Regions from separate parts of the Homo sapiens genome. Here region 1 is linked to region 2. Evidence: promoter capture Hi-C in 16 types of primary human blood cells and fetal thymus (Javierre and others, 2016). All regions are on one chromosome and are shown on one strand. The core of a region is centred on a gene start or on the middle of the fragment in contact, and the rest is flanking DNA. Distances in the headings are between cores, read along the strand shown.

Region 1 (3,689 bases), core at 24-2,523, 2.7 Mb after region 2:
GGTCTGAGCGCTGTGCCCAGCCAGGAGCACTCCCAGGTAAGACGCGTTGGCCACTTAACGGCACAGGTGAGCCTCAACCCCATCCACAAACCACCCTGGGACCAAAACAGCCATGAAATGCCCCAAGAACTGTATATTTTGTACAACCTAAAGCTCAGGGTCAAGGTCCTATGAGAGAAGATGAAAATTCCAGACTTCTTAGAGCCAGAGGATCTGTTCACAGAACTCCTTCTGCTGGCCAACAGGAGAAGAAAAACCAATCAGTAGCTGCTTGTTACCAGATAAATACACAATGAAGTAGAAGATGAAAGCTAGTTATTTGAAGGAGACTCAGTAAGAATGGATCCAGGTCTTTTGATTTAAAAGAATATAGTCAAGGCCGTGTGCGGTGGCTCACGTCTGTAATCCCAGCACTTTGGGAGGCCGAGGTGGGTGGATCTCTTGAGCTCAGGAGTTTGAGACCAACCTGGGCAACATAGTGAAACCCCGTCTTTACCAAAAATACAAAAAAAAAAAATAGCCAGGTGTGGTAGCATGCACTTGTGGTCCCTGTTACTCAAGAGGCTGAGATGGGAGGATGGTTGAGCCTGGGAGGTGGAGGTTGCAGTGAACTGAGATCGCACCACTGCACTCCAGCCCGTGTGACAGAGTGACACCGCATCTAAAAAATGAATTAAAATAAAATAATGTGGTCAAAAAACAAGTTGGCCACATGGAAATTTCATTGAAAAGGTCATTTGGGCAAAATTGAATATCTTCAATCAACTAAGGTTTTCGAGATTTTCTCGTGTGTGTGTGTGTGAGAGAGAGAGAGAGAGAGACAGCATGTATGTAGACATGCTTGTGTAACTTGTTGGAATATTAGTAAAAAAGACCTCCTTTCCCCTCAGGACAGTGGCCTTTGCTGTGGAGCCTGCCCTCTGCTGGGCAGACCACAGAGAAACTGCACTTACCAGAACACACTTTCTGTGGACAGGCAGGTTCTCAAAGAGAAGAAGGGTTGAGTACCATGTATGAGCCCCTCTCCCATAACCACCTCCCATGGGAAGAGTGAGAGTGGGGAGAGAGGCAGCAGGCACCATAACAGAGCTCCCTCTTCCAGGAATATCATGAGAGGGTCCTAGTTTCCCGCTTAACATTCATGCATTCATGGGCAAAGAGTAGAACATGGATAGACGTCTGACTCAAGATGGAACCCTAGCATTCTTCCAGTTAATTGGAGTGATATGTATTCCATTGGTTCTCCTCTTCAGGTGGTTGCCTTCAGATTATTATTTTTTAATGAGTATGCATTACTTCAGTAATAAAGAAAATAAAAGAAACAAGCCATAAAAGAAACCCCAGAAGAACCTTGCCTTTGAATTCTGAGCAACACCCTCTCAAGCCATCATGGAGTCTGTGGCCAAAGGAAAACTGCTGTATCCTCTGCATGGTGTTGTAGATTTTTAATGGTTAGGGTTTTTTCCAGAACATTAAAGTGTTAAAAAAATTGAAAAAATGTAAAATCGAGATATTAAAATGTACAACATTCTTTTAATTTTAAATATTCTATTTATAACCCAAACCAGAACTAATTACAATTTTAGTTTCCTGGCTTTCATGGAAACAAATATATGCTCCTCCAATGCCTTTAATGTTCTGGAAAACATTGACCATTAAAAAAAAAATAACATTAAGACATGTATAGAGACAGGCATTTTTCTTACTGCCTCAGGCTCTAAGATGCTCAGCACAACACTGTCAGGACCTATGTGTCTTAGTCTGCTTGGCCTGCCAGGCAGAATACCACAGGCTGGGTGGCTTAAATGACAGAAATTTATTTCTCACAGTTCTGAAGGCTGGGAAATTCAGGACTGAGGTGCTGGCTGATTAGGTGTCTGCTGAGGGCTCCTCTTCTGTCTTGCACACAGCAGCCTTCTCACTTCTCTTAGGCCTCCCATGGAGGGGAGAGAGAGAGAGAGACAGAGACAGAGAGAGAGCTGGTTTCTCTTCCACTTTAAAGAGGGCACCAGTTCCGTTGGATCGGAGCTCCACCCTTATCATCTTAGTTGACCATAATTACCTCCTAACAAAGCTCTGTCTTCAGTACAGTCACCTGGGAGGTTAGCACTTCAACATATAAATTTTAGGGAGGACACAATCCTGTCCACAGCAGTATCTTTATTTAAAATTTCATTATTTTAGTTCATCTTGAATTTTTCTGCATTGATTTTGATTTTTAAAAATATTGCACTAGCATATTATTTCTCATGATTGCTGAGCTTCTTTCTCCTTCTGAAGTTTCTCTCCTGAGGTGAGTGCCTCACTTACCTCACCCTCATCCAGTTATGACTTGGAGGCTTCTCCAGCTCATCTAATGAGGGCCATCAGGAGCACTTCACCTGATCACATCCACTCCAGCCCTTTGCTCTTGGACAGCCAACTAACAATACTTTGGCAGGGCCTCGGAGTGGGAGATCTTCCGAGGCACCACCACATGAAGACCTGTTCCACAATCAGTGTCACTCTACAGCCCAGGGTGCGTGTCTGCCTGTTCTTCCTGACCCTAACTCTGCCTCCATCAGACCCAGTCTTCTGGATGTTCAAGAAAAGTCTCCAGGTCTTTTCTCTTCCTTTCCGCAGCCACGCTTTATAGACTGAGAGTCCATAGCCACTGCCTTTATCTTTCACCTTCTACTTTCTCTCTACACCTCCACAATCCTGCCTCACCAATGCCATCAGGAACTCTACTCTTAATGACCAAAAAAACACTTCCAGATTCCAAAATTCCAGTCCAATCACATTCTCTGAGCATTCGTCCTAGGTGACGCCCTGTCTGTGGATGGCCGTTGCCTTTGCCTGGTAATCCTCCCTTGGCTTTTGAGCCCTTCCATTGTCTGGCCCCAGCCTGTGCTCCCTCTGTGTGGGACATTGTAATATTCTTTCCCCAACCCCTCTTCTCTATCAGGGACCTCTCCTAAGACTTTATCTATCCCCTCTGCACATTCGATCTCCACCAAAACCTCTATCCGCTATCTTGACCATTGGGCCAGACTTGGATCACTTCCAGCTTCCTATAGACACCCTGCTTTCTAACACTACTGCCATTTTCTTCTTGTCCTCCCCACTTTGGAAACAGGGCCCCAACCCTCTGCCTCAGCCTACTGCCCTGACCCATCCCCTACCTCTCCCTACAGTCTCTACACCAGCCCTCAAACATGCATGTGCTTTTGTGCAGACCAACCTGGGTCCTATCCACATCCTCTCCAGGTATGGTGCACCCATGACCTGTAGCAGCACCACCTGTGGTGGTTGTTACAGTGGTTTCCAGGGACAGCCTCAAGCCTGCTGTGTCTCTGGGGTGGGCTGGGGACCCCCATTTCCACTAGTTTACCGAGGTGATTCTGATGCTCACAGAAGATGCCCTGCCTGGTCAAGGAGCCTTTCAGAATCTCACTCATCAGAATGCCAAGGCTCCAACTTTCACAGAAGGCTTTCCCGTGCCCCAACCTGGGGAGCTTTGCCTTACCTAGCTGTCTGAGTCCAGATCTTATTTCCTTTCTTCACTGTTTGCTACCTGTCATTTTCAACTTTCCTGGAAGTGTGTGTATGTTTCTTAGCCACCATCCAGACTATAACAGGTGCTATGTGTTATGCAGTGGCCTTCAAAGTCCCCAGCAGGGCCTTTAAATGATCACCCGTGTTTGTTC
Region 2 (3,683 bases), core at 25-2,524:
CACGAGCCCACCGGGAAGAACGAACAACTCCAGAGGCTCTGCCTTAAGAGCTGTAACACTCACCGCCTAGGTCTGCAGCTTCAATCCTGAGCCAGCGAGACCACGAACCCACCAGAAGGAAGAAACTCCGAACACATCTGAACATCAGAAGTAACAAACTCCAGACGCACCACCTTAAGAGCTGTACCCACTCACCGCGAGGGTATGCGGCTTCATTCTTGAAGTCAGTGAGACCAAGAACCCACCAATTCCAGACACACTATGGGCTCACAGCGTGTACTCGCGCACACGCAGTCAGGTGTGGATGTACACCCGCGCACACCCAGGCACATGTACACCCGCGCGCTCACACACCCCATCCAGCTACAGCAGAATTCTGGCCAGGCTGTTGACCGCACACCTGCTGCCTCCTTGGCCACCCTGTCCACACAGTAGCCCGATCGACCCCCGTGGCGGCCGAGACCCAGGCCCATCCGCAGCCCTGAGACCTCCCTAGGGATTGCACCCAGCAGCCAGTCACCGGCCTCCGCGGCCTGGCCAGTTGAGGGTGGCCGTGACCGCGGGGCCAGGAGCGCCGCCACATCTCGGGGCAAATGGCGCGGGGGAAGAGTTTCCTCCTCAGCCTCCCCGTCTCCGATCGCTCCGCAAACTCCAGAGCGAGGCACGCGCCTTTAAAGGCAGGTCCGCGGCTCTCCCACGTCCTGGCGCCCGGTTTTCCGCACCCAGTGTCCCCACAGCTGTGCCCGGGCACAGAGGCGCGGCCAGACCGCACTCCGCGGGCTGCAGGTGTCCCGGCCTCTGGCGGCGCCGGTGCGGCCCGGAGGTGGGAGCCCGCGGAGCCACTGCAGTAGCTGGAGTCCCGCCGAGTCCCCAGCCCCAAGGCAGGGCAGGAGCGCGCACCGGCCGGAGGTCCATGCTGAGCATCGCCCGCGCCGGTGCCCGGCAGCCTCTCCAACTGTGTGGTCCCCGCGCGGGCAGAGAGGCACGGACTGCAGGCCGTGGGCAGCTCCATCTTCCCGCGTCCTCCTCCTCTGGCGCTGCCCGCTGTCTCCCGCCTTCCCTCTGCTCCCCGCTCGCCTCCGCCTCAGCGCCCCGCTGACCTCGCCTCCTCCCCTCTGCTCTTTGTCCCTGCACTCTCCCCTCCTCGGTCCTCTGACCCCCCCGCCCTCACCTCCTCCCCTCCTCTCTCCCCTGCCCGCCCCGCGCTCTCCCACCGCTCCCGCCGCCCCCGCCGCCGCGGCTGCCACTCCGCCCCCCGCGCCGCACGGAGCTTCAGTAATAACCCCGGCGCGGCGGCGGAGTCGCTGTGGGGAATCCTCCCGCGCTCTGCCTGGGTCGGGTCCTCCCTGCCCGCTCGCACGCTGCCGGCCGGGGACCCTCCGGTGGCCCCTAGCCCCTCGGAGCGCTCCTGGATGAAGCCCCGCGCGCGCGGATGGCGGGGCTTGGCGGCGCTGTGGATGCTGTTGGCGCAGGTGGCCGAGCAGGTGAGTCCCGGGCGCTCCCACCAGCGCGGAAACCGCGGGTCCGGACAGCTGGAGGCGAGTCCCCCGCGGCTCCTCTCCCGCGGACCCCGCCGTCTCACCGCGATGTCGCCGCTGTTTTCCGCAGGCACCTGCGTGCGCCATGGGACCCGCAGCGGCAGCGCCTGGGAGCCCGAGCGTCCCGCGTCCTCCTCCACCCGCGGAGCGGCCGGGCTGGATGGAAAAGGGCGGTAAGTCCGTGAGGTGGGGGCTTCTAATCCTTGCCATTTAGCAGCTCGTAATCTCCGTGCCGCTGGTTTATTAGGTGCTGTGAATGTTCACGACTCTGTGGAACCCTACTTTTAAGATGCTGTTGTGAACTTTTTTTTTTTTTAACTGTATGAGCGAGCCCCGATGAGTGGATTTCCACCAATATTTACATTTTATTCCCTGGCAAAACGGTTTGCCAGAGTTATTGATATAACATTAGGAAAAAGGTGAGGAAGTTCATTTTATTTTATTCTAAAGAGCTTAGGAAGAATCTAAAGCTATTAATGTATGCATCAAAGCCGTCATAAAGAGCAAATTACTTTCTTTTCCGTCCCCTTCTACATCCTCGGATCCTCCTTCCCGTCCCCAACCTTTCCTCCTTCTCCTCCTTTATAGATTAAAATATTCCTCTATCGTTGCTTATTCTCAGTGAAGGAGATAAAAGAAGCGCTTAGCATCTCAATACCAAAGTTAATGCTCCAACAATCAGGGCGTACTTCAAACATAATAGTGCCTGAAATGGCTAATCAGCTGATTGTGACACCATCAGCAACGTTCATATCCTGGGCCACAATTTGACATGAGGGCAAGTCTTATTCTTTTTCAATGCATGCTTTTACTTCTGCCACTTACAAGTGACATTTGGAAATTTGCTGTCTTATGGAAAGGGATCTCTGTGTCTTCATACTGCATCAGGTAAATGAGAACGCAGGTGTGTCGCACTGGTTGCTAGGTGGTTTTTTAACCTGAACCCATCCAATGACAGTTAATAAATATTATTTTGCATTGTTACCAACAATAAATTGCCGTATCAAATGTTAATATTAATTGACTTTTATAGGAAGAACTAGGTTTCATTCTCTCAATGTATTTCCAGAAGATCTAGAAAATTAAAGTTAACAATTCAGAATTTCTCAGTATAGTTATTTCAATTTGATAAAATAACATAAAGGCAAGCACTTAATATATGCATTAACTTTTGAAATTATTCCCTGCCAAATGAGTACACAAATAGTATATAAGGTGACCGGTGTCAGATTGACGCTCACCATAGTACCTTTTTGAGAACCACCAGGGGGCGCTAGGTGCAAATGATATAAAATGTTAAAAAAAATTGTCACAGTGAATTTACAAGAGAAAGTTAATTATCTGTCCATTTACAGACTATCCTCTTGTGGTTGTCCTTGTCCTTTTTAGGGTTTTGCTTACAATACTAAAAGTTAATTCTTACAATTTTAAAGGTTAATTCTAATTCACCTTTTTAAGTAAGATTTTTGTAAAAAAAAAAAAAAAAATTCTAGTTCCCTAAAACCATGAAAATTCCAGAGGGACTCAGGAGATTTCCACAATAGTTTATGGCATTTATGAAGTTTTATTTAAGATAAAACACATTATAGACACAGAAGAAAGAAGAAGAAAAGCCAGGGCTTCGTGCCTAAGTGTGCTTTTCTCCTAAAGTGATTCAATCTGCTTCAGCATCCTCTCTGGGAGTGGGGTGCCAGTGTGCTGCTCTGAACACCTGGCACCACAGTTGTTGTCACAACGTATCGTCTCCATGACAACCACTTATCTGGCTTGGTAAGAACCTGAAGGGGAAGAGGCAAACCCTTCTTAGTGAAGTTCTAGCCCAGTGGACACAGCACACACCCTCCTCCCCTACCTTCTATGCACTTTAGCTCCTTAATTATAAATGGCTAATGTGTGAGTCTGGACATCCACAACAAGCTTTTATGCCACCAGAGAAAAGATCCTCCTCAACAGTGTTGCCTGTTTCCCTCTGACCTGGAGCAGAAGAGCTAGAAGACACTTGGTGACTGCTGGGGTCAACTTACTGTTGCCTGTCTAGGTATCCATTAGACAAGTTGGTTCTGAAATAACTAATTGTAGCCATACATTTTGTTTAAAGTAGCGCATGACTCAAACTATTATTGCAAATCATTCTTGGTGGCTGAA

The links. The method cuts DNA at HindIII sites, captures the fragments that hold promoters and counts their contacts. A CHiCAGO score of 5 or more calls a contact.
Region 1: a fragment that was not itself captured here is called in contact with the fragment with the promoter of ADAMTS16 in region 2 in 1 of 17 cell types (total B cells); the score reaches 10.8 in total B cells.

What each region holds. Positions count from the first base shown.
Region 1 is chr5:7,804,657-7,808,345 of GRCh38, forward strand. It overlaps ADCY2 (adenylate cyclase 2), which reads left to right. Exons shown (of 25, transcript NM_020546.3): 22 at 1-36. Among named protein-coding and RNA genes, the nearest start is that of CFAP90, 45 kb to the right of the region's middle. The HindIII fragment of the contact is 7,785 bases long and covers 1-3,689 here.
Region 2 is chr5:5,139,056-5,142,738 of GRCh38, forward strand. ADAMTS16 (ADAM metallopeptidase with thrombospondin type 1 motif 16) reads left to right here and starts at 1,275. Exons shown (of 23, transcript NM_139056.4): 1 at 1,275-1,484; 2 at 1,609-1,711. The coding sequence starts at 1,413. It overlaps ADAMTS16-DT (ADAMTS16 divergent transcript), which reads right to left and starts at 999. Exons shown (of 4, transcript NR_109915.1): 1 at 901-999. It overlaps ADAMTS16-AS1 (ADAMTS16 antisense RNA 1), which reads right to left. Exons shown (of 2, transcript NR_198969.1): 2 at 3,083-3,316. RefSeq lists an enhancer at 481-1,047. The HindIII fragment of the contact is 3,896 bases long and covers 1-3,453 here.